Linked DNA regions of Homo sapiens: regions 1, 3, 4, 5, 6 and 7 are each linked to region 2. Evidence: promoter capture Hi-C in 16 types of primary human blood cells and fetal thymus (Javierre and others, 2016). All regions are on one chromosome and are shown on one strand. The core of a region is centred on a gene start or on the middle of the fragment in contact, and the rest is flanking DNA. Distances in the headings are between cores, read along the strand shown. Region 1 overlaps LOC105371777 (a long non-coding RNA gene). Region 2 holds the start of KRT14 (keratin 14). Region 3 overlaps KRT23 (keratin 23). Region 4 holds the start of KRT39 (keratin 39). Region 5 overlaps LOC105371777 (a long non-coding RNA gene). Region 6 overlaps LOC105371777 (a long non-coding RNA gene). Region 7 overlaps LOC107985072 (a long non-coding RNA gene).

Region 1 (3,656 bases), core at 906-3,405, 670 kb after region 2:
TGGTAAATTTAAAAATTTATAAATGTGCATTTAAATTTCTCATTTAAATAATGGTTTTATTTTCTGGGTATGCTGTACATATTGGTGGCCCCAATGCATCCATGCCTCCAGCAGTCAGGCCTTTCTCTACTGCCTCCCACATTGACGCTGGGCTTGGTCATGAGACTTGATTTGGCCAATGGAACATCAACAAGCTTGACACAAGCAGAGGCTTACTAAATGCTTTCACATTGGGAGTTATTCTCTTGGAATGCCCTATAGGCAGCCAGCTACCATGTGAGAAGTTCAATTACCCTGAGACACCATACTGTGAGGAAGTCTAAGCTAGCCTCTTGGAGAGCCCACACCAAGGAAAGCTGAGGAATCCAGGCAACAGCCATAACTGAAGCTCCAGGCAACAGCTGTAACTGAGGCTCCAGGCATATGACTGAGTCAAGCCATTCCAGCCAGTTTCCAGCCATTCAAGACAATGCCACTGCCCCCAGGCATCACAGAGCAGAGACAGGCCATCCCTGCTATTCTGAATCCAAAATTCTGTCCCACAAAATAATTGTGAACAAATACAATGGTGGTTGTTTTAAGCCAGTGAGTTTTGGGGTCATTTTTCATGCCGCAATAGGCAAGTGAAACAGAGTATTTTAAACAGAAGACTCTGTTATTTGCTCAGTGACAATAGCTGATTTAAGGCGAACTAGTTCATTTGCATCCCACCAAACTTTTGACCAGCATACTAGTCATTTTAACACTGACATGGACCTCTAATGAAAGTCCTGGTCTAATAACAATAGATGACATCAAAACTTTCAAGAGAAAAGCAAAGGTCTACCCTCTTCAGAGATGGTAAAGAGTAAAGCCATTGCACATGATGTTCACAGCTCTCCTCTCTGCTCCTTCCCAAGTGGGACCAAGCAGTGTAGCTCCAACCTGAAGTCAGGGCATCCCCTGCTCCTCACTTAAGCATGCTGGGATGCCCAAGGAAATTCTTTTTCTTCTCGTTGAGTTTCAATTCCTTTTGACTCTCTTTTAGTTCCTCATTCCAGGGACATTAACAATTTCTCTACAAATATTTATGCCTCCAATACCACACAAACCAACAGTTTCACTGAAAGGAGATCTCTTTTCAACATAGTTAAGCAATGTTCTCCCTCACCAAGAAACTATAAGTCATTTACAAATTAAGGTGATCATAATTATTACGTAGCTTCTAGTCATAATATTTAAAAGTCATTAAGAGTATAATTCATTTATTCTAGCCATGATTATTCACAATGCTATACTCTAAATGCTATACTTTTCTACAGCTTTTAATCAATAAATACTTTTCAGATTTTTGGTGTTTACATATCACCTGAAGTATTTTGTTGGTTATTTCCCTATGGTAACAACATTGGTTTTCCGAATGACTATAGGCCTACTTTCATTCCCATGTGTGACTCATTCCCATCTCATCTATTCTATTACAACATCTACGTGTCACCATCTCTCTGAAGAGAGTTAGAGAGTTTCTAAAATATACTGGAGGTGAGATCATGCAAAAAGGAAAAGACAGTGCTTCTCACATACCTAACGATCTGATGATCTAATCATACTCAGAAGTTTTACCTTGAACTTTGTGTGTGTGTGTAACTATTTCAGTACATGGGTTGTCCTACTCACCCAAACTTCCCATTGAAATTTAAATGGGAATTCATCTAATAAAATTATGAGTCATCTAATAGAAACTACAAGTCAATTTTTGCTAATTCCATGGTATGCATACGCAGCATAGCATGTATGCATTGACATACACACACATGTACCAGAAGTTTTTTAAATAACAACTATCCTTGACTGAGCTTTACATTCACAATCTCATTTAACATTTATCAAAACCTTGTGGCATATCATTATCTTTATTTTATGATTGGGGAAACTGAGGCTCAAATGGACTGCATTAACTTGCCTGTGGTCATACAGCTATAAAATGGTGGAAACAGAATTTGTACCCAGTATATTTACTCTTTGTGCCACACAAGTCAAAAGTGCTTGCTAGAGAGTTATGTAAAATCTGAATATGGGCAACACATTTTGATGAGCCCTTGCTGATGGCTTTTATCTAAGGTAAGAGCCCAGGTATGAGAAATCTGGATTTTCTATTTGAAAATCAGAACTCATATTTTTCAGAGGCAATTGGTAGTTTGACATCATTTACCTGGATCTTGTTCTGACAAGATCCATGAGTCAGAAATAGACACTCAGGACCAGAGGACAGGTTTTTATAACCAAAAGCTACCTTCTCATTAATCAAACCTCAAAGCATCCACTGCTTTCATACAGAGGTGTGTTCTTAACTTGTTTTAGCCTAAAACGAATCAGCATCAGGGACGATGATTGCTTCCCTGAGAGAGTTTAGCAAGTTCCAAACCTGGAGGACCTCAGACCCCAACCTGTCCAGTTAGACTCCACACTCACTCCTGTTTTCTATCAAAATTTTCTTTCCCCACACACTCACAGAATATGATAGGACAAGAAAGACAAAGACAGGGTAGTAATAATGGACAGGCCACAGATACACCCAATACCATCAACAGTCATCAGCTGAGAATATTTTATCCAGAGATTCATCACAAAAAAAATATTGTGAAAATGTTCATGTATCATCCCCAGCACCCTAGGAAGCAGTAGTTTCAGGTCACCACCCAGTCCCAAGCCTTATATGTCAGTGCTTCCGAAATCTTAATGTGCATACTTATCATATGGGGATCTTGTTAAAATGCAGATTCTGATCTAATTGTTCTGGGTTGAGGCCCAAGATTTTGGACATCTAACAAGCTCCCAGAGGATGCTAAGGCTGCTGATCCACGAGTCGCAAGATTATGGGTGATTTTGATCAATTAGCAATTCGATGCATTCCCCACAGTGAGTGTCGTGTCTATAAACCAGTCTCAATAGGTCCTCTATCAACTGAACAGGATAAACAACACAGCAGGAAAGGTGGCATCGTTAGAATCCCACTAGCACAGTCTTGCTCCAAGCAAGCTAAACCTGCAAGAGCACTAAGTCAGGCCTGGAAGGAAGATGTTTCTTAGGTTCTCACCAAGAACAGAAGACAGAATGAAGTCTAGAAATTAAGATCGATCACTTTGTCCCAAATTTTTCCTGGACTCCATGCGTAGTAAAAGCTATGAGAGGTTCACAAATCAGATTCACAGGAGAGGATGGAAAACACTTGTCCAGGATTGTCTATTGTGTTAGCTAACTAGCACTAAAAAATATACGTCTATATTTATGTATAAGTGAGTATTCACTTATAAAAATCTTTCTAAATTCTCTTCAAGGGCCATTTCTTTCTTCAGTGAACCAAATGATGGCTGAAGTTTTAAGAATAAAAACAACAGCCAGACGCAGTGGCTCATGCCTGTAATCCCAGCACTTTGGGAGGCCGAGGCGGGTGGATCACGAGGTCAGGAGATGGAGACCATCCAGGCTAACCCGGTGAAACCCCGTCTCTACTAAAAATACAAAAAATTAGCCAGGCATGGTGGCGGGTGCCTGTAGTCCCAGCTATTCGGGAGGCTGAGGCAGGAGAGTGGCGTGAACCCGGGAGGCGGAGCTTGCAGTGAGCCGAGATTGCGCCACTGCACTCCAGCCTGGGCGACAGAGAGAGACTCCATCTG
Region 2 (4,068 bases), core at 1,551-4,050:
TGGGACCTTCCTAAAGGCAGGGATCGTCTCTTCCAGTAGGCCATGCACTCCAAGGGCGGGGGCTGTCCTGAGGTTTCCTCCTTCCTTAGGATGCCATCTCCTGGTCCCCAGCACAGTCCTCAGCACACAGTGTGGGCTCTGGAGGTGCTGCCTGGCCCTGCCAGCTTCACCTGTTTGGATTGGCAGAGGGCTCCCCCATGCAGGGTGGTGCAGGGAGACTCACTAACCACAAGAGGTCCTGCCCGGGGCTCCTCCTTTACCCCCCTCCTTTTGGGGCAGGCTGGAGGGAGGGTCAGGTAATGGTGCTCACACAAAGTCTGCCTAGAAGTCCAGAGGTGGGGGGTACTCTGGGCCTCAGCAGTCAGGACTGACAACCCTTTAACCCCTGATGCCCCAGAAAATGCCCTCCCTTAAAATGTCTGAGTACCATGCTTCTTTGGCATCAGGGAGGGGAGGGGAGTGTGGTGTCCTCTAAGTCTGCTCCCTGCTTGGCTGGGTTGTTTGCAGCTCCTTGGTCACTGAGTCCTTGTCTGCAGGGGTTGGCCTCAGGCTCCAGGTTGGGTCACGGTTCTAAGACCGGGTGTGGGGGATCAGGCTTATATTCCATGCTAGGGTTCTGGTGTTGGTGCGTGGGGTTGGGGTGGGACTGCAGAAGTGCCTTTTAAGATTATGTGATTGACTGATCTGTCATTGGTTCCCTGCCATCTTTATCTTTTGGATTCCCCTCGGAGGAGGGGGAGGAAGGAGTTTCTTTTGGGTTTTATTGAATGAAATGAAAGGGAAAGTAGAGCTGTTCCTATGTCCCGGGCTCCGGAGCTTCTATTCCTGATCCCTGCATAAGAAGGAGACATGGTGGTGGTGGTGGTGGGTGGGGGTGGTGGGGCACAGAGGAAGCCGGTACTGGGCTCTGCACCCCATTCCCGCTCCCAGATCCCTCTGGACACAGCATTTTTCTCCAGTGAGCACAGCCTCCCCTTGCCCCACAGCCAACAGCAACATGCCTCCCAACAAAAGCATCTGTCCCTCAGCCAAAACCCCTGTTGCCTCTCTCTGGGGAAATTGTAGGGCTGGGCCAGGGTGGGGGGACCATTCTCTGCAGGGAGATTAGGAGTGTCTGTCAGGGGCGGGTGGAGCGGGGTGGGGCCCTGGCTTACTCACATCCTTGAGAGTCCTTTGCTGGCAGATTTGGGGAGCCCACAGCTCAGATGTCTGTCTCAGCATTGTCTTCCAAGCTCCTAGGCCACAGTAGTGGGGGGCTCCCTTCTCTGGCTTCTTCTTTGGTGACAGTCAAGGTGGGGTTGGGGGTGACAGAGGGTCCTGCTTCTCTTCTAGGAGCAGTTGATCCCAGGAAGAGCATTGGAGCCTCCAGCAGGGGCTGTTGGGGCCTGTCTGAGGAGATAGGATGCGTCAGGCAGCCCCAGACACGATCACATTCCTCTCAACATGCCTGCCGGGGTCTGTGGAGCCTAGGGGCTGATGGGAGGGTGGGGTGGGGGCCGGAAGGGTTTGCTTTGGGAGGTTGTCTGGGAGATTGCTGAAGTTTTGATATACACACCTCCAAAGCAGGACCAAGTGGACTCCTAGAAATGTCCCCTGACCCTTGGGGCTTCAGGAGTCAGGGACCCTCGTGTCCACCTCAGCCTTGCCCTTGGCACAGCCCAGCTCCACTCCAGCCTCTACTCCTCCCCAGAACATCTCCTGGGCCAGTTCCACAAGGGGCTCAAACGAGGGCGCCTGAGCTGCCCACACTAGGGATGTTCTGGGGGTCTGAGAAGATATCTGGGGCTGGAAGAATAAAAGGCCCCCCTAGGCCTGTTCCTGGATGCAGCTCCAGCCACTTTGGGGCTAAGCCTGGGCTATAACAATGCCAACGAGGCTTCTTGCCATACTCGGTTTACAAAACCCTTTCACATACATTGTCGCATTGGATTCTCAGAGCTGACTGCACTAAGCAGAATAGATGGTATGACTCCCACTTTGCAGATGAGAACACTGAGGCTCAGAGAAGTGCCAAGCCCTGGGTCACAGAGGCGTAAATGGCAGAGCCAGGACCCACCTGACTCCAGGCTGTTTCCTGGCCTCCATGAGGCCACCTGCCCTATGGTGTGGTGGATGTGAGATCCTCACCATAGGGAGGAGATTAGGGTCTGTGCTCAGGGCTGGGGAGAGCTGCCTGGATTTCTCTTTGATGGGGATGTTGGGGTGGGAACCACGATACACCTGACTAGCTGGGTGTATTTCAGGGATGGGACAGACTTCTCAGCACAGCATGGGAGGTCAGGCCTGGGAGGGCCCCCCAGACCTCCTTGTCTCTAATAGAGGGTCATGGTGAGGGAGGCCTGTCTGTGCCCAAGGTGACCTTGCCATGCCGGTGCTTTCCAGCCGGGTATCCATCCCCTGCAGCAGCAGGCTTCCTCTACGTGGATGTTAAAGGCCCATTCAGTTCATGGAGAGCTAGCAGGTAACTAGGTTTAAGGTGCAGAGGCCCTGCTCTCTGTCACCCTGGCTAAGCCCAGTGCGCGGGTTCCTGAGGGCTGGGACTCCCAGGGTCCGATGGGAAAGTGTAGCCTGCAGGCCCACACCTCCCCCTGTGAATCACGCCTGGCGGGACAAGAAAGCCCAAAACACTCCAAACAATGAGTTTCCAGTAAAATATGACAGACATGATGAGGCGGATGAGAGGAGGGACCTGGCTGGGAGTTGGCGCTAGCCTGTGGGTGATGAAAGCCAAGGGGAATGGAAAGTGCCAGACCCGCCCCCTACCCACGAGTATAAAGCACTCGCATCCCTTTCCAATTTACCCGAGCACCTTCTCTTCACTCAGCCAACTGCTCGCTCGCTCACCTCCCTCCTCTGCACCATGACCACCTGCAGCCGCCAGTTCACCTCCTCCAGCTCCATGAAGGGCTCCTGCGGCATCGGGGGCGGCATCGGGGGCGGCTCCAGCCGCATCTCCTCCGTCCTGGCCGGAGGGTCCTGCCGCGCCCCCAGCACCTACGGGGGCGGCCTGTCTGTCTCATCCTCCCGCTTCTCCTCTGGGGGAGCCTGCGGGCTGGGGGGCGGCTATGGCGGTGGCTTCAGCAGCAGCAGCAGCAGCTTTGGTAGTGGCTTTGGGGGAGGATATGGTGGTGGCCTTGGTGCTGGCTTGGGTGGTGGCTTTGGTGGTGGCTTTGCTGGTGGTGATGGGCTTCTGGTGGGCAGTGAGAAGGTGACCATGCAGAACCTCAATGACCGCCTGGCCTCCTACCTGGACAAGGTGCGTGCTCTGGAGGAGGCCAACGCCGACCTGGAAGTGAAGATCCGTGACTGGTACCAGAGGCAGCGGCCTGCTGAGATCAAAGACTACAGTCCCTACTTCAAGACCATTGAGGACCTGAGGAACAAGGTGGGTGAATGGGCAGCAGAAGGCACCATTCCAGCTAGCTCCTTCTGGGAACAATTCATGCCCCAGGCCCCTGAGACCTTAAGATTTCTCTATAGGACAGAGTCCACCCCAGATCCCTTCTTTCGAGGTCTTGGATGCCCTAAGACTGATCAGTGAGAAGATGCTTTCCCTTCCCCAGCCTCCTCATCCCCTTCTGATCTCAAATCCTCAGACCATGTGAGATCAGTGATTCCTATCCTTACATTTTTTAGAGGAAGCAGTTGAAGCTTCGAGAGGTGCTGTGACCAGCTGCAGGTCACATAGCAAATTAATGGCAGAGCCAAGGCTGGGGCCCTTGTGCCCTACCTTCCAGCACAGGAGGCAGCTACTTGTTCTCCAGCACAGGGGAGGAGTGAGGCTCTAACGGGACCAGGCAAGACATCCAAACCACTCATTAGCTCACTAGTCTGGGCTGTGGCTGCCGCCGCCCATAAGCCTTGGTACAGGCTGGTCCCTCCCCACAGCCAGGCGGGCATGGAGAGCCTGCAGAGACAATTAGTGTGGTCCCTTGATGTGCCCTGCACAGAGAGAGCCTGGCAGGCTTGTGCCCTGACTCTAGCCCCCTCCTCCCTGCTCCCACATTACTTGGGAGCCCTCCCTGCTGGAGTCTGTTGGGCTCTAATGACTTGCATGGATTAGGGAAA
Region 3 (3,963 bases), core at 712-3,211, 650 kb after region 2:
GGATGTCTCATAACATTAGCTAGAAGTAGAAGGAATCCAATCATCTCATAGGTTATGTTTTAAAGCTATCTAACTCCCCTCTTATATAAAGCAGTCCCAGAAAATTCCCTGTAAGACCATGATTTAACCTCCCCTAGAAAGGGTATCACAAGTTTCCAATATTTATATATATTATTTCACAATGCTCAGTCATCCTTGCTTGAATGTAGGAAGGACCAGTCAAGATAATATAAATCTGTCCTTGTAATGAACCCTAATTATTGAATAATCAACCTAATAACTGACTGTAATTACCTTAACTATATAGTGCATGGTTGTCTTTATGAAAAAAAAAAAAAAACAAGGTGACTCAACAGTCCTCATCATGTTTTTTTGTTTAATAAAGTTGCTTTGGTTGTAGAAAGGAGGAATTGAAGATTTTTGCAAATGGAGAGCAAAGGGAGACCATGACTCCCAAAAGAAATACAAGGTTAGAACCAGTCAAATAATTTATGAGCTCGCGGAAGAGATTTAAAAAAAAGAAAGGGAGGAAAGAGAGGGAAATGTTTACTGAGCACTTATTATGTACCTAGGCATCCTGCTGGATATTTAATACACATGTCAACACTATCCAAGAGTTTTCTGCAATGATGGAAATGTTCCATATTATTTTATTTGATTCTGCAAGAACCCTGTAAGGAAATGGAAGCTTGGAAAAAAGTGAAATAGCCATCCAAAGCCATCAGCAAGAAGCAGAGGTGGGATTCTAACTCAGGTCTGTTTCCAGTAGCCTCATAAATTTCACTACAGTGTAGTGCTGCCTAGCCCACCTCATATAAAAATGACACTTAGTATGAATAAAGATAATGCATTATACTTGCATCATTAACCACACATCACATACTTCATACACATTGTCTCATTTAATCCTCACAACTGTGTGGAGCAGGTATTTGTATTCTCAACTTACAGATAAGGAGACTGAGACCTAATCATTGTCTAAATCCTTTGGAACAGAATTGAGAAAAGTGAGTAGGTGCAATGGGGGGTGTGGGGAGCAACCTGCCCACCCTTCAGATGACCTGGAATTCTGGGTTCTGAGATTGAATAGGAAACTTCTTTGGCTTTGAATTTCACTCTTTTCTGGATTTTTACCTCTAACATTGTGTTTTCTCTACACTTGAAGAAAGAAACTCTTTAAAGTTGAGGTTGTCTATCTACCCCAACCTCCCTCATTTGAAGATGAGAAAACAGAGGTGCAAGGAGGTCCCACAATTACCTGGGGCTTATCCTTCCTGGACCTTGGTGAAATGCTCTGAGTGGATACAGTTCTCCCGTACCCTCACTTTAGGTATATTAAATATCACTCAAAAGGTTGATAACAAGTTGAGCTTAAAAATTAATTCAATCCTTTTGAAATCCAGAATTGGACACAGTCATAGGAGTATCATAAATAAAACACCTTGAATGATTCTCAATCGGACTATATTTGGCATTTTTGTTTACAGTCAAACATTCTGTTTTCCTCTCCCTAGTAGATCAAACATCCTGAAGCAACAATGCTGCAAGAATATGCCAACTTGCTTTTAAAAGAATGAACTGAGGGCCTTCAGGAGAATCTGGGTGATTAATTACAACACTCAGTAAAAAACCTATGCCTCATATATCGTTTCTCAACCCATCTTCATCCACTTATTACCATGAAGATTGTGTCAGAAATGATGGTTATATCATAATTCTGTACTAAGTAAGCCTGAATAATGGGAAATAGTTTTAAACGTGCTCTATATCAAGCACATTTCAGAATTCACATTTGTGTGCTATGAGAATGATAGCTGGGGGAATCAGACACTTGAGGTGGACTTTGCAATGGATAAATTACCAATTTAACCCAGAAAAGCTAAATAAGCCCATAGACAGTATTTTTGATTTTCTGATTCTCTGGATGTAGATTAACACCTCATAGTGTGTGTCAAATAGAAAACCTCAGTGCACAAGTAAGTAAGGGTTACCCCACAATGGCCCCCAGGCTCTTTGGGATAGAGCTACTTTTCATTTTGCAGGAGCTTACATAATGCAAAGAATAAGGGGTCTGGAGGGAGAAGTATTGGTAAGAATGCCCCTAAGCAGCACTGTGGAGAGGAGACAAGGAAATATCTAAAAGTGTCCTTCTTTATAGCAAGGGAAGGGGCCATAGTACCATTTGGAATCCCACAAGAGGAAAAAGAATGAGGCAGGAGCAGCCAGCCTGGCTATGTCCCACCATGAACAGCAAAAGTCTGAGCAGGCATCTCAGCATATAGAACCTGGGGATGTTCACAGTGTAGTCACTGAATCTATAAAAGTGCTAGATTTTTAAAAAGAAAGGTGTATTATTTACTTTTTTCTGAACAAATTCAGTTTCGACCAATTTTTCACTGTCTATAATATGCCGATAATATGCTATTTGACATTATTTGACATACTCTCTTCTAATTCTCATAACTCTTTGATGAAGTAACTATTGTTATTGCTATTTTATGGATGAATAAACTGAGACTCAGCCAAGCTCACTCAGCCAATCTCACCCAGCCAGTAAGCGCGGAGCAGGATCCCAGGCCCTGCTCTTTGAGTTCCAGACCCAGCATTCATGCCATCTCTAAATCCTGCTATTGTGCATTCATGATACCAAATTCCATGGGATCAGTGGAGCTTTAAATAGGACCAGACTTTTAAAAGGTGCCTTTGTACTGAAGTATAGCTTTGTCCTAAGAAAATGCTTTCTAAATAAAGGAATGAGCTATGTAAATATAATGGGAATTACCCAGGATTCTCTGACTCCAACTAAATTACAGAAACTTAGAGCTAAGACCTCTAAGGTCCTCTGTCTCTAGTACAGACTCCTTATTTGACAATGGATGAAACTGAGGCCTGGAGAGTAGAGTGATGCAGCCTGATGCATCCACATGGATGGTCAAGAACAGAGCCAGAACCAAAGAAAAGCTCTAAGTTTCTAGTCCAGCACAACACTTGGCGTAAAAGCATTATTACACTTTTGACAACGAGACATCTTCTACCCTAAAGACAGTGACATACATCAAATGTGTGCTATTTCTCTGACTATAACATACCTACAAGTGTTTACAAATCATAAATGTATACACACTTGCTCGAGTAAGTGCTTTCAATACTATTTTTCTTTTCAAAGTAAAAAAAAAATTATACGAACATCTAGTGAAAGTCTTTAACTGGAGGCTTTACCACTACTGAAGCTTCTTAAGCATTTTCCTTAGATGGTAAGGAATTATTTCAGTTAATATTTTAATAGCTACAATGAGCACATTCTCATCACAGAATAAGTTGCAATGACATAAACACACCTTCAAGTTACAGTCACTTCGGGCAAAAAAAAAATGTGTTCTGTGATGACTATTACAAAATACATTGAATATTAGTGTTAGCGTTGCTCAGTAACACTGATTAGAAACATGATTGCTATCACAAGTAAGAATTATGTTCACCTGAAATAATAATTTTTGTATTTTTGGAGGGCTGAACTAATTAAAAGTAATGGCAAAAATCACTTTTTCACCAACCTAATACAATAAGAAAAGGATCAGAACCTAAAGTCCTTTTAACATCTTCAGCTGTGGATGAGCTTAATTAAGCAAAATGCTATGACATGTCCATAACCTAAAAAGTTAGAGGGCATTTTGAACAATTACTGTCCTTCCCCTTCCTATATCATTCTTTCAGCAGTTGCATCAATCCAAGCCTGTCAAAACTCAACATAAAAAGAAAAAAGGCAGTAACACTGACTGCAGATCATATTCTTATTTTAAAATCATTCTGCTTTGCACCTAGTATGTGCTCACTAAGCATTTACTGATTCGGTTATTCATTGTTCCACTGCCAGAACAAGAAGTTGTCTGTACTAACAAGTCAAATATTCAGGAAGCTAGAGGACAGACATGCAGCGGTCATGTGTGGGTGTGTCCAAGTGAG
Region 4 (4,089 bases), core at 1,033-3,532, 620 kb after region 2:
AACAGTTTTTTACGGCTTCTTAATTTTGAGTCATCATTGGAAAAGTCTTCTGACTCCAAATTTATAAAATAATTATCCTTTTGGGCATATTTATTATTTATTTTTCATATCTCAATCTTTGATCTACTTGTAATTCGTCCCACTGTAAAGGATGAAGTATGGTTTCAACATTCCCTGCCCCCACACCAAAGGGAATACAAAATTGTCCCCAAAGTACATATAATACATATAACGGTCTACCTTTTCCCCATGGCTTTTATTTTGTATTTTATTTTATTTTATTAAAAATGAAATCGCACTGTGTTGCCCACCTGAACTTGAACTCCTGGGTTCAAGTAATTCTTCTGCCTCAGCCTCCTACAGAATGGGAGAAAATTTTTGCAATCTGTCCATCTGACAAAGGGCTAATATACAGAATCTACAAGGAACTTAAACAAATTTACAAGAAAAAACAAACAACCCCATCAAAAAAATGGGCTAAGGATATAGAAAGACACTTCTCAAAAGAAGACATTTATGTGGCCAACAAACATATGAAAAAAGCTCATCATCACTGGTCACTAGAGAAATGCAAATCAAACCACAATGAGATACCATCTCACACCAGTTAGAATGACAATCATTAAAAAGTCAGGAAACAACAGATGCTGGAGAGGATGGAGAGAAATTGGAACACTTTTACACAGTTGGTGGGAGTGTAAATTAGTTCAACCAATGCAGAAGACAGTGTGGCAATTTCTTAAGGATCAAGAACCATAAATACAGTTTGACCCAGCAATCCTATTACTTGATACATACCCAAAGGATTATAAATCATTCTACTATAAAGACACATGCACATGTATGTTTATTGCAGCACTATTCACAATAGCAAAGACATGGAACCAACCCAAATGCCCATCAATGATGGACTGGATAAAGAAAATGTGGCACATATACACCATGGAATACTATACAGCCATAATAAAGGATTAGTTCATGTCCTTTGCAGGGACATGAATAAAGCTGGAAACCATCATTCTCAGCAAACTCACACAGGAACAGAAAACCAAACACTGCATGTTCTCACTCATAAGTGGGAGTTGAACAATGAGCACACATGGACACAGGGAGGGGAACATCACACCGGGGACTGTGAGGGGGTGAGGGGCTAGGGGTGGGATAGCATTAGGAGAAATACCTAATGTAGATGACAGGTTGATGGGTACAGCAAACCACCATGGCACTTGTATACCTATGTAGCAAACCTGCACGTTCTGCACATGTATCCCAGAACTCAAAGTACAAAAAATCTCATAATTCAAGAAAAAAAAAAAAGGATGAAAAGGGGCCACTAGCTGAGGATGTGGACAGCCTGTAGAAGCTGGAAAAGGCAAGAAAATGATGTTCCCCTAGAGCCTCCATAAAGGATTAGCAGCAAGTAACTTTCTGAAGAAAATGCTGAGTAAGTATTCCTCAGAAAGAAAACACACCCCTTTCAATGAATCCTATTTAAACATCCAGTATAAACCAACACTGTGATACATTTTTATCTAATGTAATACCACAAGCAAACACCAAGCACTAAAAATGTTATAAAATGTGGACTTTGGAAAACCAAAAGAGAGCTAGTCTCTTTTCCAAGAAATTTCTTATTAGCAATCAAACCCTACCTTTTCCCCATGGCTTTTATTTTATTTCATATTTTATTTATATTTTATTTTATGTTATTACATTTTATGGAAAGCTAAAACATAAATCTAGCAATTATCTTTAAAACAAGACTTTTAAAAGACTAACATTTTAATTCATACTCACATTGTCCTGACACTGAAAATGGGGAAACCATTTGGGCAGAACAAACTAAAATATTGACTTCTGATTTCTAAGTTTACCAATAATTATTAAACATTAATAGTTTCCCTTTTCTAGAGAAGAAAGGAAAAGAAGGATGAACTCATTCCTGGTTAAGCTCAGTGCCAAGTGGAGAGGTCAACAAGAATGTAATGAACTTAGTATACTCACACCTGCTTAATAATGGATGCTGTTAGGACAGTTCCTTTTGAAGACATAATTTGAAGCTCTGGGTCCAATAGACAAGTAGTAGTTATGATGGGTAATAACTTACTAACAGCCTAAATGCACATGTTTATGAGACAAATAACTCTTCTTAAGCAAGTAAAAAGCAGACTAATAAGATGTTCCTACAGGATTTGATATAAACCTGAGAAAGGAAAACATCCCACCTGTGTGACACCACGTAGAAGAGAGGCTATATAAGCACTTCAAAGAGGAAAACACCAAGAGCCTTGGAATTCAGACTCTGTGGAGGTGGCTTGAGCTTTTCATCCTGGTGACCACAGACCTGGAACAAACTAAAGCCAGACACATACTATGGACACCAAGGGCTGTACAACAACCAATTCTCCTTCAACCCCATGTCAAAACTGCTCTAGGATTACAAATGTTAGTACCATCTCTTCTAACAACGGCTGCCATCCTGGTGGCCTTACAGTCAACAACTGTCAACCAGCTGGCCACGTTCTCAGAATTCCCTGGGACCAGGGCTGCCAACCCACTCCTCGCTTTTGTCGCAAGCCCATCTACCTAATGAACAACTTCAATGCCCGTTTTTCTCTGGATGACTGCAGCTGGTATGGTGAAGGCATCAACAGTAATGAGAAGGAGACCATGCAAATCTTGAACGAGCGCCTTGCTAACTACCTGCAAAAGGTGCGAATGCTAGAACGAGAGAATGCTGAACTGGAATCTAAAATCCAGGAAGAAAGTAACAAAGAGCTCCCTGTTCTATGTCCTGATTACCTGTCTTACTACACTACCATTGAGGAGCTCCAGCAGAAGGTAAGATTCCTAAGAACCTGTTTAATCGTGTTGTGAATTAATGGTTTCCAAGCAACAGTTATTTGCTAAACTTTAATATTTTTTGTTCAGTTGATGCTGAAAATTTTTTTGAAGAATAGAAAAATTTCTTGAGTGAAATTGTCATCTTGAGGCAGCATTCAGAGTCTGATAGTATTTCTGGTCAGGCGCAGTGATGCACACCTGTAATCCTAACACTTTGGGAGGCTGAGGCAGACAGATCACTTGAGCCCAGGAGTTCTAGACCATCCTGGGCAACATGATGAAATTCCATCCTTACACACACACACACACACACACACATACACACACAAAAAAAAATTAGATGGGCGTGGTGGCACATGCCTGTGGTCCCAGCTACTTGGGAGGCTGAGGTGGGAGGATCACTTGAGCCCAAGAGGTTGAGGCTGCCATGAGCCAAGATCCTGCCACTGCACTCCAGCCCAGACAAAAGTGAGACTATGTCTTTAAAAATCAGAAACAAAAAGAAGAGTCTCATGGTGTTTCCTTTCTCCAGAAATACACTCTACCATTATAACTAGATGACTCAGGACCAAAAGATGTTAACAGCAAGTTGTTGCCATTTTTTAAATAAAAATAGGGAAACAGAGATCAGAGAAAATAAATTTTGCTTTAATGAGTTTCTAAGCAATTTAGTTTTTATCCATTTTTCAACCATCACCACCTTTTTCTCCTTTTATGCTTATGTTATCATCTCCACATTGCTTGGTTTGTTTCTACACCAAACCTAAGTTTGTTATGCACAGACGTATTCTGCTACTACATATCTGGATTTATTCAGTTTTATTCATTCAACAAATGTTTACTGAGCAGCAACAACATTGGGCCAAACATTGTTCTAGATTCTGGGAAAATATTGGTGACCTTTAAAAAGTCCCTGCCCTCATGGAGTTGACATTCTAGTGGATCATGGTATTTATATAAATTTAGGATGGATTTTATTTTATTTTTTATTTATTTATTTATGTATTTATTGAGATGGAGTCTCACTCTGTCACCAGGCTGGAGTGCAATGGCGCGATCTCTGCTCACTGCAACCTCCAGCTCCCAGGTTCAAGCGATTCTCCCTCCTCTGCCTCTCTAGTAGCTGGGTCTACAGGCACGCACCACCACACCCAGATAATTTTTGTATTTTTTTTTTTTTTTGAGACGGAGTCTCGCTCTGTCTCCCAGGCTGCAGTGCAGTGGCGCGATCTCGGCTCACTGCTA
Region 5 (4,080 bases), core at 956-3,455, 690 kb after region 2:
GGGTGAGTAAGTGCCCTGCTCTTCCCCACCTGCTCTAGGACTCCAGATCCTAGGGAGAGGTTGCACATCTTGCTCTGAAAGCCACCCCTCTAGAAAGCCTTCCTGGCTTCTTCAGCTTTCAGCCTCACCTCCTCCTGATTTTTCACAGCACTTTCTAAGGACTTTTGCTTCCTCCTTTCATACATGCCCTTGTTAGCATTTCCTCTGCCAGACCACAAGCTCCTCCAGAGCAGTGTCTGACCACCCAGGAGGCACTCAGCAAATCATAAATAGTTTAATTTGCCCAGATACGTTTCTGTTTTTAAAAACCAGTTGTCAAAACTTCATTTCATCTTTTGCCAACTGCCTGACTCAGAAGACGTTGATGTTCGTTTGTTTGTTTGTTTGTGTCTGTTTGTTTGTTTGGAGACAGTGTCTTGCTCTGTTGCTCAGGCTGGAGTGCAGTGACGTGATCACCGCTCACTGCAGCCTCAATTTGCCAGGCTCAAGGGATCCTCTCACCTCAGCCTTGCGAGTAAATGGGATCACAGGCGCGCACTACCATGCCTGGCTAAATTCTGTATTTTTTGTAAAGATGGGGTTTCACCATGTTGCCCAGGCTGGTTTTGAACTCCTGGGCTCAAGCAATCCGCTCACCTCAGCCTCCCGAAGTGCTGGGATTACAGGTGTGAGCCACCACGCCCAGCCCAGAAGATGTTAATCTTTACAGGCAGTTTTCCTAAAACCTGTTTATTAATACAACTCTTCCTTGCAAAATTAGGTGTTGGGAAAAGCGTTCTTTCCCTCTCTCTTTCCATCCCTCCATTTCAAGCTCAATCCTGTACTCTGCAACAAATTTTCAATATGAAGCTTCTCTTTTAACCAGTCGGATGCTTTGTATGGTTTGTTTTTCCCTTTTTACTTAAGTGTGTGCACATTAAAAAGTAATGAAATACCCCACCGAGCAGAAATGTGAACACATCTGCCGTTTGCATTCTGAAAAACGAATTAATAATACATCTCTTCATCTAGTCTGATGCATCCATATACATCGTGCCTTGCTCTAGGAGCATTCTGGAGCCAATGATCGCCGCCGTATCTTAGAGCACCTGTTTCAATTTTGTGTGATTAGTAGCACGGGAAGGACCATATTGAAAGAGGAGGTCTCTAGCCCCAGGTAGAAACAAAAATGTATTGAGTATAGACCTTATATTCACCTTTTAAGCAGTAATTTCGTTGATGAGAGTTTTGTTTATACATCAGGATGTTGTTGCCAAGACAGTTTTCCTGGGTCATGCAAAAGCACTAAAAATCAATTTGCAGAGCAAATATTATGTAGCTTAATCTCAACTTTCTATATTTGTACCGTTGCTATAGGCAAGTCATTAATCTGCATATGCCTCAGCTTTTCATTTGTAAAATGAGGATGGCCTACATGACTTTCAAGGGCTCTTTCAGATATGATAGCCTATATGGTTCTTTGTATTTAGAAACAAGCCTCATGAAAAATAAAAACACATGGTGAGTGATTTGTCACTTGCTTACTTGTTTTCAAAAATAGTAAGTTTGGGTTGTCCAAGTAACATAAAAGCATATCAGAAAATTAAATCACTGATGATTTCTCCCTTAGAACATAGTCTAAAAAAGTTCAATGCTAATTGGTTATTACCATTTAGTTAGCTAACAATATTATAGCCTATAGCTAGGCAATATTTTCTAGAGCTTTCACAAGCACCATAAATTCTACAGTCTTCAGTTATCACAATGAATGAAACGCTCAATGATGTGATAATGCAGCAGTTTAGAGAGAAGAAGCCTCCAGGCAGCAGCAAGGGCTATGCAAGATGGCAGCCTCTCCCAGGAGATGCTGTTTCCTGTGGTCTGTCTGTGCAGATTTGACTCTGGAGTTTTGGAAGACTGAGTGAACTAGAATCATGGTGGTAATTTATATATGAGGGATAAACATAAGAATCATCAAGACTGGCACCGGGCATGGTGGCTCACACTTGTAATACCAGCACTTTGGGAGGCCGAGGTAGGTGGATCACCTGAGGTCAGGAGTTCGAGACTGACCAACATGGTGAAACCCCATCTCTACTAAAAAATACAAAAATTAGGCCAGGCGTGGTGGCTCACACCTGTAATCCCAGCACTTTGGGAGGCGGAGCTGGGCAGATCACCTGAGGTCAGGAGTTTGAGACCAGCCTGACCACCATGGAGAAACCCCGTCTCTACTAAATATACAAAAAATTAGCCGGGTATGGTGGCACATACCTGTAATCCCAGCTACTCAGGAGGCTGAGGTAGGAGAATCGCTTGAACCTGGGAGGCAGAGGTTGCAGTGAGCCGAGATTGCACCATTGCACTCCAGCCTGGGCAACAAGAGCAAAACTCCATCTCAAAAAAAATATATATATATATAAAACTTAGATGGGCATGGTGGCAGGTGCCTGTAATCCCAGCTACTTGGGAAGCTGAGGCAGAAGAATCGCTTGAATCCAGGAGGCGGAGGTTGCAGTGGGCCAAGATCATGCCATTGCACTCTGGCCTGGGCAACAGCGCAAGATTCTGTCTCAAAAAAAAAAAAATCAATAATACTGGAGAAAACCTTTCCTACGTACCTTATCAGTACCTTATTATGCACTCCCAGCCTGGTCTCCAAATCAGAATACTCAACAGTCTTCCTCTTCATCCAGGTCTCCTCCACCTAAATCTGACACAAGTGCTACAAACTTGGCATTTCCACAAACACACCATGTTTCCCTTTGCAATGAGATTCTGTCATTTGCAACAACATGGATGGAACTGGAGGTCATTATGTTAAGTAAACCATCTCCCAAACCATCTCCCAGTCCTGTCCCAGTGTCCCCCTTGCCATGGGGTACCACTATCACCACCCAGTCATTCTCATCTCATCCTATTCCCCATGTCCCACACCCACTCATTCCACAAAGGAATCAGGGCCAAAGCCCATGCACACACTATACCCAAGAAAGAGAGACATGCACAGGAGAGATGAACGGGGTGACCAACTGTCCTGGGACTGACTGTCCCAGTTTTAACTCTGAAAGTCTCACATTGCAGAAAGCTCTGTGTCCTGGGCAAACCAGGACAGTTGGTCATCCTGGAGGGAAGGAATTTGAGAGCACAGGGATGGCTTCCTGGAAGAGATGACATGCAGAAGAAGAGAAGGGGATGGAGTATACAGAAGCATGGAATGGAGGAATCAGTGGTGTGTGTTACTGGAGTGTGCCATCTGAGGCATGGAGGGGTGACCAGGGGGTCTAAAAAGGTAGGCAGGAGCTAGATCTTTGAGAGCTGTATATTGGACTTGACTACATACTGTTGTCAGTTTTTTACAGAAGTGAAATAATCAGATTTGCATTTTTAGGTAGGTGTTTGAGACTGGACCTCAACGTTCATGAACTAATGATGGCTAGAAACAGGTGCTAATATTATTTTTAAATTGTCAGTAACTTCTTTACTATGATTCTAGAGGTAGGAACTAGAATTAGTCTTGGTGACAAATTATTCTTCTGTTTTGGGAGGAATTCAGTTGGGCTCTCTCTTAGTCAAGCTTGTGTAAAATAAGTACTCACTTGTCCTTGGCATAACACTGGACATGGGCAAAATAACACGGATACGGAGCCAATTGCAGGGGTGAAGAGGACCGTTGAGCCTGTGGCTTCCCAGTCAGAGATTTAGGATGTTAAATCCAAATGCAGCCCTATCTGGTTTCAAACGTCACCTCTGGGATGAAAAGATTATATCCATCTTGGCTAGGCACAGTGGCTCACACTTGTACTCACAACATTTTGGGAAGCCGACGCAGGAGGATCACGATTAAGATATCCATCTCATCCGTTGAAACTATGCCCCCACACTGGACCACGTAGCCTATAGTACACTAAAATAAGTTAGTATTTTTTAAATAAATCTTGTGATTGGTACAGGTTTATTGTATTATGAGATTTTGTGTTGCAAATGGTAATGTAAAGGAAATATAAACACTTTAAATTTTTTTCAATTGTTTAATATACCAGGAGCTTCAAAAATTGGAAATGGTCTAGATGCCCCTCAGACTCTGAAAGGACTTGCAAA
Region 6 (3,766 bases), core at 525-3,024, 710 kb after region 2:
CTTTCAAAGAAGTGAGTGAGAGCTACATACATGTGGACCAGATGGTGGAGTTCTACCTCCAGTTCTGCCAGCAGTTACTGTGTGAAAGTGAAGCATTAATCTTTGTATCTATCTATATTTCTGATATGAGCTAAGAACTAGAATGACATAATCCTATTTCTGACAGGTAAACAGATCCAGAGAGAAGTCTTTATCACACATTAGAATTATCATCAATGTATTTTTTCATTTTATATGAAATTGTCAGTGCAGAAGTGAAGCTATCAAACTCAGAGAGAGCCCCTAGAGGTGAGGTTAGGATGGAAATAACTATTTTTTCTGAGCTCTGGAGATTATTTCTACCCAGAGTTCTGAATCATCTAAAAAGGAGAATGACATGGAGTGATACAAAATCAAAACATGGCCAGTGACCTCCTCAGACACTCTGTTCTCATCCACATGCATCAGGATCAGCCTCAGGTACCTGATTAGACCCCCAAGTAACAATTCCAACTTAAAGCATTAGTAGTGATTTTTATTTTTGAATTCTCTTTCAAACATCTCTGTTTTCTCTCCCCTAGGCTCATTTCCAAGATTCCTCTCATCAGGGTATTATTTTATCATCTTCCTGTCTCCTACCACTTTCAAAATTCTCCCCTGCTTTCAAGAACCATTGATCTCTGGAGCCCAGAAGTCAATCTCACTCATACCCCTTAGGGTCCTTGTTTAACCCTCATCTCAAAAGCACAATACATAAAATGTAGGCAACCCAAAATTCTCTCAGTCACTCACAGGATTTTATAATGTTATCCAAAGTGAAAGATGTTACAGATCAAGGGATCAGCGAGTTGCAGAAAATGACAGGTCTGTCTTACGGGAAAAAACTCAGGTAGAAAACCCTGCAAAGACCAGGACAGAAACCAACCTGACATGAAAAGATGAGGGTATGATTTACTCAATAAAAATCTAAAGACTTGTAAAAACCACATAACTAATTTTCTCTATTTTGAACATTTCCTAAACTCTACAAAAATGGAAGATATAATTCTTTTGAACAGTTTGCCCTGGCTATAATCATTTTCCTCTCTGCCTCAACTTATGCAATCACTCTGCCAACAAGCCCAAGATTGTTTATTGTTTTTTACATCACCACTGCCTTATACATTAATGTGGCTGTCAAAGAAAATTATTTTCACTTCTAAAACCTCTAAAGCAGAGTCTTGATTATTTAACTTAGCCTCCCACTTAAAAAAAAAAAAGCCACTGAAGAAGAAATATTTCCCTTTTCAACTTCTGAAGTTGCTCCCCATTCATAACTGAATTCAGAATAAATATTGGTCAAAGCATACCAGTAAATTAGGGCACAGTCATTTTCAAATGAAATGAATTTCAAATGACACATTCAAACACATTAAGACTTAACTTCTTTCAAATGAAATCATTCAAGGAGTGCAGTGATAAAGTTCAGCGAAACACTAGGCTAGGACTCAGGATAAAAAATAAATTAGATGTAGTACCTACCTAACAAGCTTAGTCTAGGATAATATGTTATATGTATAGAAACATAAACAAATAATATATAAACATAATTTTTAGAGATTGAGCAATATTATTTAAATTTTACCATAGGCATTAGAGTTGGAAAGTGTACCTTTCAGCACAAAATCAATTCCAAGTTCAAAAATTCAACTTAATCATATTCCCGTATTATGTGATCAAATCACTGAGGTACAATTTTGAACTTGGCACATTTCTTTTGACATTTTATTTGCTTCTGTTTTCATTTCTATGGCAGTAAAATGGAATCTCTCTGTCTTGGGGGACACTTGGGAGTGAATAATAGTTAACAACCATAACATCAAGTTCTTGTGTGGGGAGTGCAAGTTTAACTTGTGCTTTATAAGATCTCTGGAGATGTAGTTACAGGTCAAAGCTAAAATGAAAACCGCATTTGCCTGTGTGTTTACAGAATTTCATGTGTCATGTTGTTGCTTATAAGCCATGAAAAGTCATTCTCTAGGTCTCAGCCCATACACTGAGAAATTCAAGGAGAAAGCTTAAAAGAAAAGAAAAAAAAAAGAGCACCTCCTGTTAGATGTGCAGGGCAGAAGCCTAGTGTCAGGTGTCATAGCTAGGGGATGTCAGAGTATCCTCTGCCCTTTTTATTGTCACCGCCAGCAGCAAGGTTGTGGTATCTATAGAAGGCACTGCAGGCCCGAATCCTATCTCTGCCTCCTCCCAGCTGCATGGGCGTAAATAAATCACTTAACATCTGGACTCTCAGATTGCTCATCTGTAAAATAGGATAAAAGTACCACCTGAAGCTGGGCGCCTTGAGGTGGCTCATGCCCGTAATCCCAGTGCTTTGGGAGGCCAAGGCAGAAGGATCACTTGAGGCCTAAAGTTCAAGACCAGCTTACGCGATATAACAAGACTCCATCTCTACAAAAAAATTAAAAAAAAAAAAATAGCCAGTGTTGTGGTGCCCACCTGTAGTCCTAGCTACTTGGGAGGCTGAGGCAGGAGGATTGCTTAAGCTCAGGAGTTCAAGGTTTCAGAGAGCTATGATCACACCACTGCACTCCAGCCGGAGTGAGGGCAACCAAGCAAGACCTTGTTTCAAACAAACAAACAAATAAAACCAGTACCACTTTAAGAGCTTGCCGTGAAGGTTAAAAAATAATGTCTGTAATTCAGCTGGCCCAGTGTCCAAAAAGTAGTAAGTACATAATAACTGATAATTCAAACAAGACCAGCTCAGTCAAAATGCTTATAATATAGATTTAAGGAATCCTTGGTAAAAACCTCCATATGGGGCTAAAATCACTGGCATTTCCACTGACCAGATTTTCATTCTCTCAAGAAATTAAACAAATGGATCATGGCTTCTCTCAAGCTGAGACTGCCTTAGGTTGCTACATTCTTTCCACATCTATAGCAAATGTGTGATTTCTGCAAATCTCTTGCTTAAACCCCCTTTATTTAGAAATCCCACTTGCTTGCTCTTTGTGACGAGTTTAGGTTGGGGAGAAATATGTCCCTTCACATTTGTCCCTTATGTAATAATATAAAAGGAAGTTGTAATTGGATTTCACCACGGGTTCATCATTTGTGTCCCTGGGAAAGTGGCTTTTTTTTTTTTTTTTAATAAAAAGTCAAAACAGTCCTTCCATTTGCCAGAATTGATCCCAGGTATTCCTTATGGAGGTTTGCCATGGGCTTCAGGTGTGACCCCTCGGCATCTGTCCCCTAATCCCCAGTGGGCACTGCTAGTTCTGGCTCAGGACTCTTCACAATGGAAGAACCTCAGCTTCGGGGAGGCTGTAATCAGGGAGATAATATCTGGATATGCAGGTGGACAGGAGGCAGCAGTAAACTACGGGGAATCTAGGCTACAGGTCTGGAATTCCTCAGGAGTCAGTCTGTACTCTACAAGGCAAAACAAGTGCTAACCATTGAGACTAACTCCAATGAGATAAAGGCCAGCGAAAGAAGCATTCTCAGGAGAAAGGGCTCCCAGGGAAGGTGGAGCAGCAGGGGCTGCAGAAGATCCCTCTGCAGGGAGCACCTGCACACTGGCACCAAGCAAAGACATCTGAGTGCATGTTTCTGGGTGTGTGTGTGTGCATGCATGTGTACATTAGAATGAGAGTAACATCTGAATGTGTCTACATTGTGAATCCACGAATACTTAAATTATTATACTTTGTAGCTTGCCTTTATATTGATACACTCTTTTTTGATTTTGGAAAAATTTCCTCATACATAACACACATTAATGGCCCAG
Region 7 (4,172 bases), core at 965-3,464, 640 kb after region 2:
ATTATACTGCTTCGTGAAGCTTACTTCAGTTGGCAAAACAATCACATGAGAGCTAATGAATTATTTCACTTGAGCCAAATGACAATGGCATAGTCATGCAAAGCCATTCTGATAACTAATGAAAGTGCTATATTAAGGATAGAACCTTTCTTTTTAAAAGAAAGCTGAGTCACACCTGACCCAAAGTAAAAACCACATAAAGGTCCAACTCTTCTGTTTTCCAGAATGTTAGGGAGCTCAGTTGTAAAGGACCTCTCCATCATGTATCAACCTTCACAATCTTTGCGGCCAGTAGGAAGAAGATAGCCCTGGAGGAGAAGGGAGAACAGTTTGAAGTCATCCCTGTAACAGGATCACTTTTGTGGACAACTGAAATGACAGGGCAATTCAGAGAGGACTGATGGCCCTTCTCCTAGTACAATATCTGTTACCCTTGTCTCTTGTGGCCCTGATGTTTCCTGGAGTCAGGTTATGGTGTCAATGGAGAAAACAGCTGGAAGGCTTCTCCACCGCCAACACATAATAAAAGTAATCACAGATGCACAGAAGCCACAGTGTCTCCTAGGGCCAAAAAGTAGAAAGAGTAATGCTTCTTTCATTCAATTAAAAACTGATTAAATATTATGCCTCTAGACATTGTGCTACATGCTTTACATGAATTATCTCACTCAATTCTCACAATGGCCCTACCATACTATGGTTATTACCACATTACTAACAAGTGAACTAAGGCTTACAGAAGTTAAGTAATTTGCTCAGTGTCACAGCTAGTAAATGTTAAAGTCAAAATCTGAACAAACTCAAATCCTCTATTCCAAATGCCCAATCAATTAAATAATTACTCAAGTTTGAAAATGTCATACATGTAGCCTAATGAAAGCTATAAAGAATTAAAGAAATAATGCTTGTCTTGGAGGTCTAAAGAAGGTGAGCCATATCCCTGGTGGTTCAAGTGGTTAAGAAAATATTTTAAAAAGAGAAAGTGAGCCCTAAAAACACAACACAACAGTGTCCAGCCCAATCCAGGAAGGGGCAACACTGAACTCATGAACACCATCTAAGCACGTGTGGACTTGAGGCAGTTTTTCAACCTCATTCCTCAAGACCCCATATCCCTCTTCTAGTTCCATTTTTGACAAAAGCCTTCATATTACAATTTGGTTTCTCTAATTCTTAGGTACAACAAAGAAGGTGCATTGATTTGCAGTTGGGAACTCTGTGGTTGCAAAATGGATCATCTTTCAATGTTAAATTAATAAGTTTGCATTCTGTCTCTTTCATCTGGCACTTAAAAGTCAGGTTACTCTGAGTCAGCTCCTGAGAATCCCTTTGGTTCTGGTGCACTAATAACCCACCAGCCTAAGAACAGACATAGACCACTGTGACTTCACAAGAAAGTATCACCTTGTGAAGTTCTGCTTTGGAGACCAGATGACCTAACTCAACAGCATCTTCATCTCTTCTCATTCTAACCACAACAATTAGGCTGTTGGATTTGTGTGAAGTTTATTGCTAGAAGATTGGCACAGTATAGCCCTGCTCTACTAGATATAAAGCCAAGAGGTCTTGAATGGAGAAGCATTGGGAAAGTGTAGGTCTCATTTCTAACTAGTTCATATTCATGGCGAGCATAGGCTCAAAACAATGAATGCCGGATATTCATGTTTCCAACAATTTGTGGCTTCATCAGCAATTGTGGGCTGCCAAAGCTGCAGGGGACTTCCTGGTTTTGACCCATCCCAAGAGTAACAGGACACAAGGCTGATAGGATGAAATATCCAAAGTCCACCCCCAGGATTCCATTTTTTTTCTTTTTTTTTTTTTGAGACAGAGTTTTGCTCGTGTTGCCCAGGCTGGAGTGCAATGGCACGATCTCGGCTCACCGCAACCTCCACCTCCTGGGTTCAAGTGATTCTCCTGCCTTGGCCTCCCAAGTAGCTAGGATTACAGGCATGCGCCACCATGCCCAGACAATTGTGGTTTTTTTTTTTTTTTTTAGTAGAGACAGAGTTTCTCCACGTTGGTCAGGCTGGTCTCGAACTCCTGACCTCAGATGATCCACCTGCCTTGGCCTCCCAAAGTGCTGGGATTACAGGTGTGAGCAACCACACCCACTGCCCCCCCCCACCCCCACAGGGTCCCTTTTAAGAAAGGCTACAAATTATAATTAGAGGGATGGTAATCAGAAATGAAATCAAACGTGTTGGGTTCAGAAAAAAACAGAAGATGCTATATTAGTGTATTCAGGAGAGGCACTGGGAGAAATAGACAAAATAAGAAAGAGAAAGGAGCAAAATGGATATGTTTTTGTGGCTGCAGAGTAAGAAGAACCAAGAGGTCATTTGGAGCTCACTTACATGGAACAGAATGTACAGTGGGACTAAGATTGCAGGGACCGTGTCCAGCGTCCCAGTTACAGCACCGTCTCTTTGTAGTAATGACACAAAGACTATGTAGTAAATAATAATTAAGGATGAAAGACGAGCTGTGGACAAAGGGTGAGATCAGGAGGGAAATAGGCTTTGGTTGTAAATAAAAGACACATATTCACATTTGCCCTAATGATGGTTCCCACGTGCCGTGGATCTTCAGGAACAGCCTTCCTTTTATGTAATTTTATGCTTCTCCGTAAAAATTATTTGTAAAATGTTTAATTAAATGTGATTTAAATTCTATAATTTTCTGAGGTATATCATATATATTAATTTGAAAATTTAAAAATCCACCTATAATTTGCCTTTTTAGGGTTTATGAAATATAGTAACTATAACCATCTTTGCTGTTACGCTAATAATTAAAGATCTAGACTAAGTATGTGTATGGAAAATATGTTTTATAAATCACATGGAAAACACATTCTATTCACCTTGATTTAATCTTTGTAGGAGATTGGTCAGAGTGGTGGGAGAAACTATAGGGAAAGGATGCAAACCTTCTGAAAGTTCAGAAGGCTCTGCATAGCTTCAGGGGAGAATAAGCTGAAGGCAGCTGTTCTCTGATCCTGAGGCAGAGGGCAAGGAGTAGGTACAAGGAGGTGTAGGGGAATTTATCGTAAACAGGCTTGTTTACTTAGGTTGTCCAGAAACCGACCTTTGATAATCTGTGCACATGACTGCTCCCTGAAAAGGGGAACAATAATGTTAATTACCCGCAGATTGTGTTTGCTCCAGGCTTTCGGCATTATGTCTGTACTGAATAAAAGCAAGCAGCTTCAGCTGTTCGCAGCTGCTCTCTTCTTTGGCCCTAAGTGCCGGCAGACCCCTAGCTGCTCTTACACTGCACGCCTGTGTTGTCAGTACTCCCTTCATCCGACGCTCGGCCAGGGTCTGCAGGACAGACCTGGCAAATCTTCAGCAAAAATCCATCACCAGAGTTCCTACTGGATGTTTCCCCCACAAACACACAGACACTACGATGTTCTACTGCCACTGTAACAAAGTGACATGCATTTCATGGCTCAAAATAACACAAAACACGAATGTACTATCTTACTGTTCTCTATTTCAGAAATCTGACTTGGGACTCAGTGTACTAAAATCAAAGTGTTGGAGGTCCTGGGGGGGATTTGTTTTATTGCCAAACTTTTCCAGCTTTCAGAGGCTGCTCACATTCCTGGGCTTGTCCACCATTTCCATCTTCACCATCAGCCATCTCGTCACCCTTAACTCTGCCTTCATCACATCTCCTTCGCCAACACTGACTGAATCTTCTACTTCCCTCTTCCACCTTTTTTTTTTTTTTTTTGAGACGGAGTCTTGCTCTGTCACCCAGGCTGGAGTGCAGTGACGCGATCTTGGCTCACTGCAACCTCCACCTCCCAGGTTCAAGCCATTCTCCTGCCTCAGCCTCCGGAGTAGCTGGGATTACAGGTGTGCAGGCATGCAGGCATGCAGGCATGTGCCACCATGCCCAGCTAATTTTTGTGGGGTTTTTTGTTTGTTTGTTTGTTCGTTCGTTTAGTAGAGACAGGGTTTCACCATGTTGGTCAGGCTGGTCTCGAACCCTTGACCTCGTGATCCACCCACCTCGGCCTCCTAAAGTGCTGAGATTACAAGCGTGAGCCACCGTGCCCAGCCCCTCTTCCACTTTTAAAGACATTATGATTATCTTGGGCCCACCTGAATAATTCAGGATACTCTCCCTATTTTAAGGCCAGCTGATTAGCAACCTTA

What was found. The method cuts DNA at HindIII sites, captures the fragments that hold promoters and counts their contacts. A CHiCAGO score of 5 or more calls a contact.
Region 1: a contact is called between a fragment that was not itself captured here and the fragment with the promoter of KRT14 in region 2, in 5 of 17 cell types (total CD4 T cells, naive CD8 T cells, activated CD4 T cells and 2 more). The highest score is 9.7, in total CD4 T cells.
Region 3: a contact is called between a fragment that was not itself captured here and the fragment with the promoter of KRT14 in region 2, in 7 of 17 cell types (naive CD8 T cells, activated CD4 T cells, total CD4 T cells and 4 more). The highest score is 13.8, in naive CD8 T cells.
Region 4: a contact is called between the fragment with the promoter of KRT39 here and the fragment with the promoter of KRT14 in region 2, in 6 of 17 cell types (naive CD8 T cells, total CD8 T cells, total CD4 T cells and 3 more). The highest score is 11.1, in naive CD8 T cells.
Region 5: a fragment that was not itself captured here is called in contact with the fragment with the promoter of KRT14 in region 2 in 13 of 17 cell types (naive CD8 T cells, total CD4 T cells, naive CD4 T cells and 10 more); the score reaches 15.4 in naive CD8 T cells.
Region 6: a contact is called between a fragment that was not itself captured here and the fragment with the promoter of KRT14 in region 2, in 13 of 17 cell types (activated CD4 T cells, M0 macrophages, non-activated CD4 T cells and 10 more). The highest score is 14.5, in activated CD4 T cells.
Region 7: a fragment that was not itself captured here is called in contact with the fragment with the promoter of KRT14 in region 2 in 6 of 17 cell types (non-activated CD4 T cells, activated CD4 T cells, naive CD4 T cells and 3 more); the score reaches 9.5 in non-activated CD4 T cells.

The regions. Positions count from the first base shown.
Region 1 is chr17:40,913,254-40,916,909 of GRCh38, reverse strand. All of the region lies in intron 1 of LOC105371777 (a long non-coding RNA gene), which reads right to left. Among named protein-coding and RNA genes, the nearest start is that of KRT23, 23 kb to the left of the region's middle. The HindIII fragment of the contact is 3,918 bases long and covers 197-3,656 here.
Region 2 is chr17:41,585,627-41,589,694 of GRCh38, reverse strand. It overlaps KRT14 (keratin 14), which reads left to right and starts at 2,800. Exons shown (of 8, transcript NM_000526.5): 1 at 2,800-3,385. The coding sequence starts at 2,861. LOC124904003 (a long non-coding RNA gene) reads right to left here and starts at 1,348. Exons shown (of 2, transcript XR_007065755.1): 1 at 1,159-1,348; 2 at 744-832. RefSeq lists an enhancer at 3,897-4,068. The HindIII fragment of the contact is 10,096 bases long and covers 1-3,653 here.
Region 3 is chr17:40,931,489-40,935,451 of GRCh38, reverse strand. The region is part of intron 2 of KRT23 (keratin 23); the gene reads left to right. All of the region lies in intron 1 of LOC107985072 (a long non-coding RNA gene), which reads right to left. Among named protein-coding and RNA genes, the nearest start is that of KRT23, 4.2 kb to the left of the region's middle. The HindIII fragment of the contact is 2,542 bases long and covers 691-3,232 here.
Region 4 is chr17:40,965,141-40,969,229 of GRCh38, reverse strand. It overlaps KRT39 (keratin 39), which reads left to right and starts at 2,282. Exons shown (of 7, transcript NM_213656.4): 1 at 2,282-2,841. The coding sequence starts at 2,374. All of the region lies in intron 1 of LOC107985072 (a long non-coding RNA gene), which reads right to left. The HindIII fragment of the contact is 5,044 bases long and covers 1-4,089 here.
Region 5 is chr17:40,891,665-40,895,744 of GRCh38, reverse strand. All of the region lies in intron 1 of LOC105371777 (a long non-coding RNA gene), which reads right to left. Among named protein-coding and RNA genes, the nearest start is that of KRT20, 8.5 kb to the right of the region's middle. The HindIII fragment of the contact is 2,707 bases long and covers 852-3,558 here.
Region 6 is chr17:40,869,983-40,873,748 of GRCh38, reverse strand. All of the region lies in intron 1 of LOC105371777 (a long non-coding RNA gene), which reads right to left. Among named protein-coding and RNA genes, the nearest start is that of KRT12, 4.6 kb to the right of the region's middle. The HindIII fragment of the contact is 527 bases long and covers 1,511-2,037 here.
Region 7 is chr17:40,948,603-40,952,774 of GRCh38, reverse strand. All of the region lies in intron 1 of LOC107985072 (a long non-coding RNA gene), which reads right to left. Among named protein-coding and RNA genes, the nearest start is that of KRT23, 13 kb to the right of the region's middle. The HindIII fragment of the contact is 4,385 bases long and covers 22-4,172 here.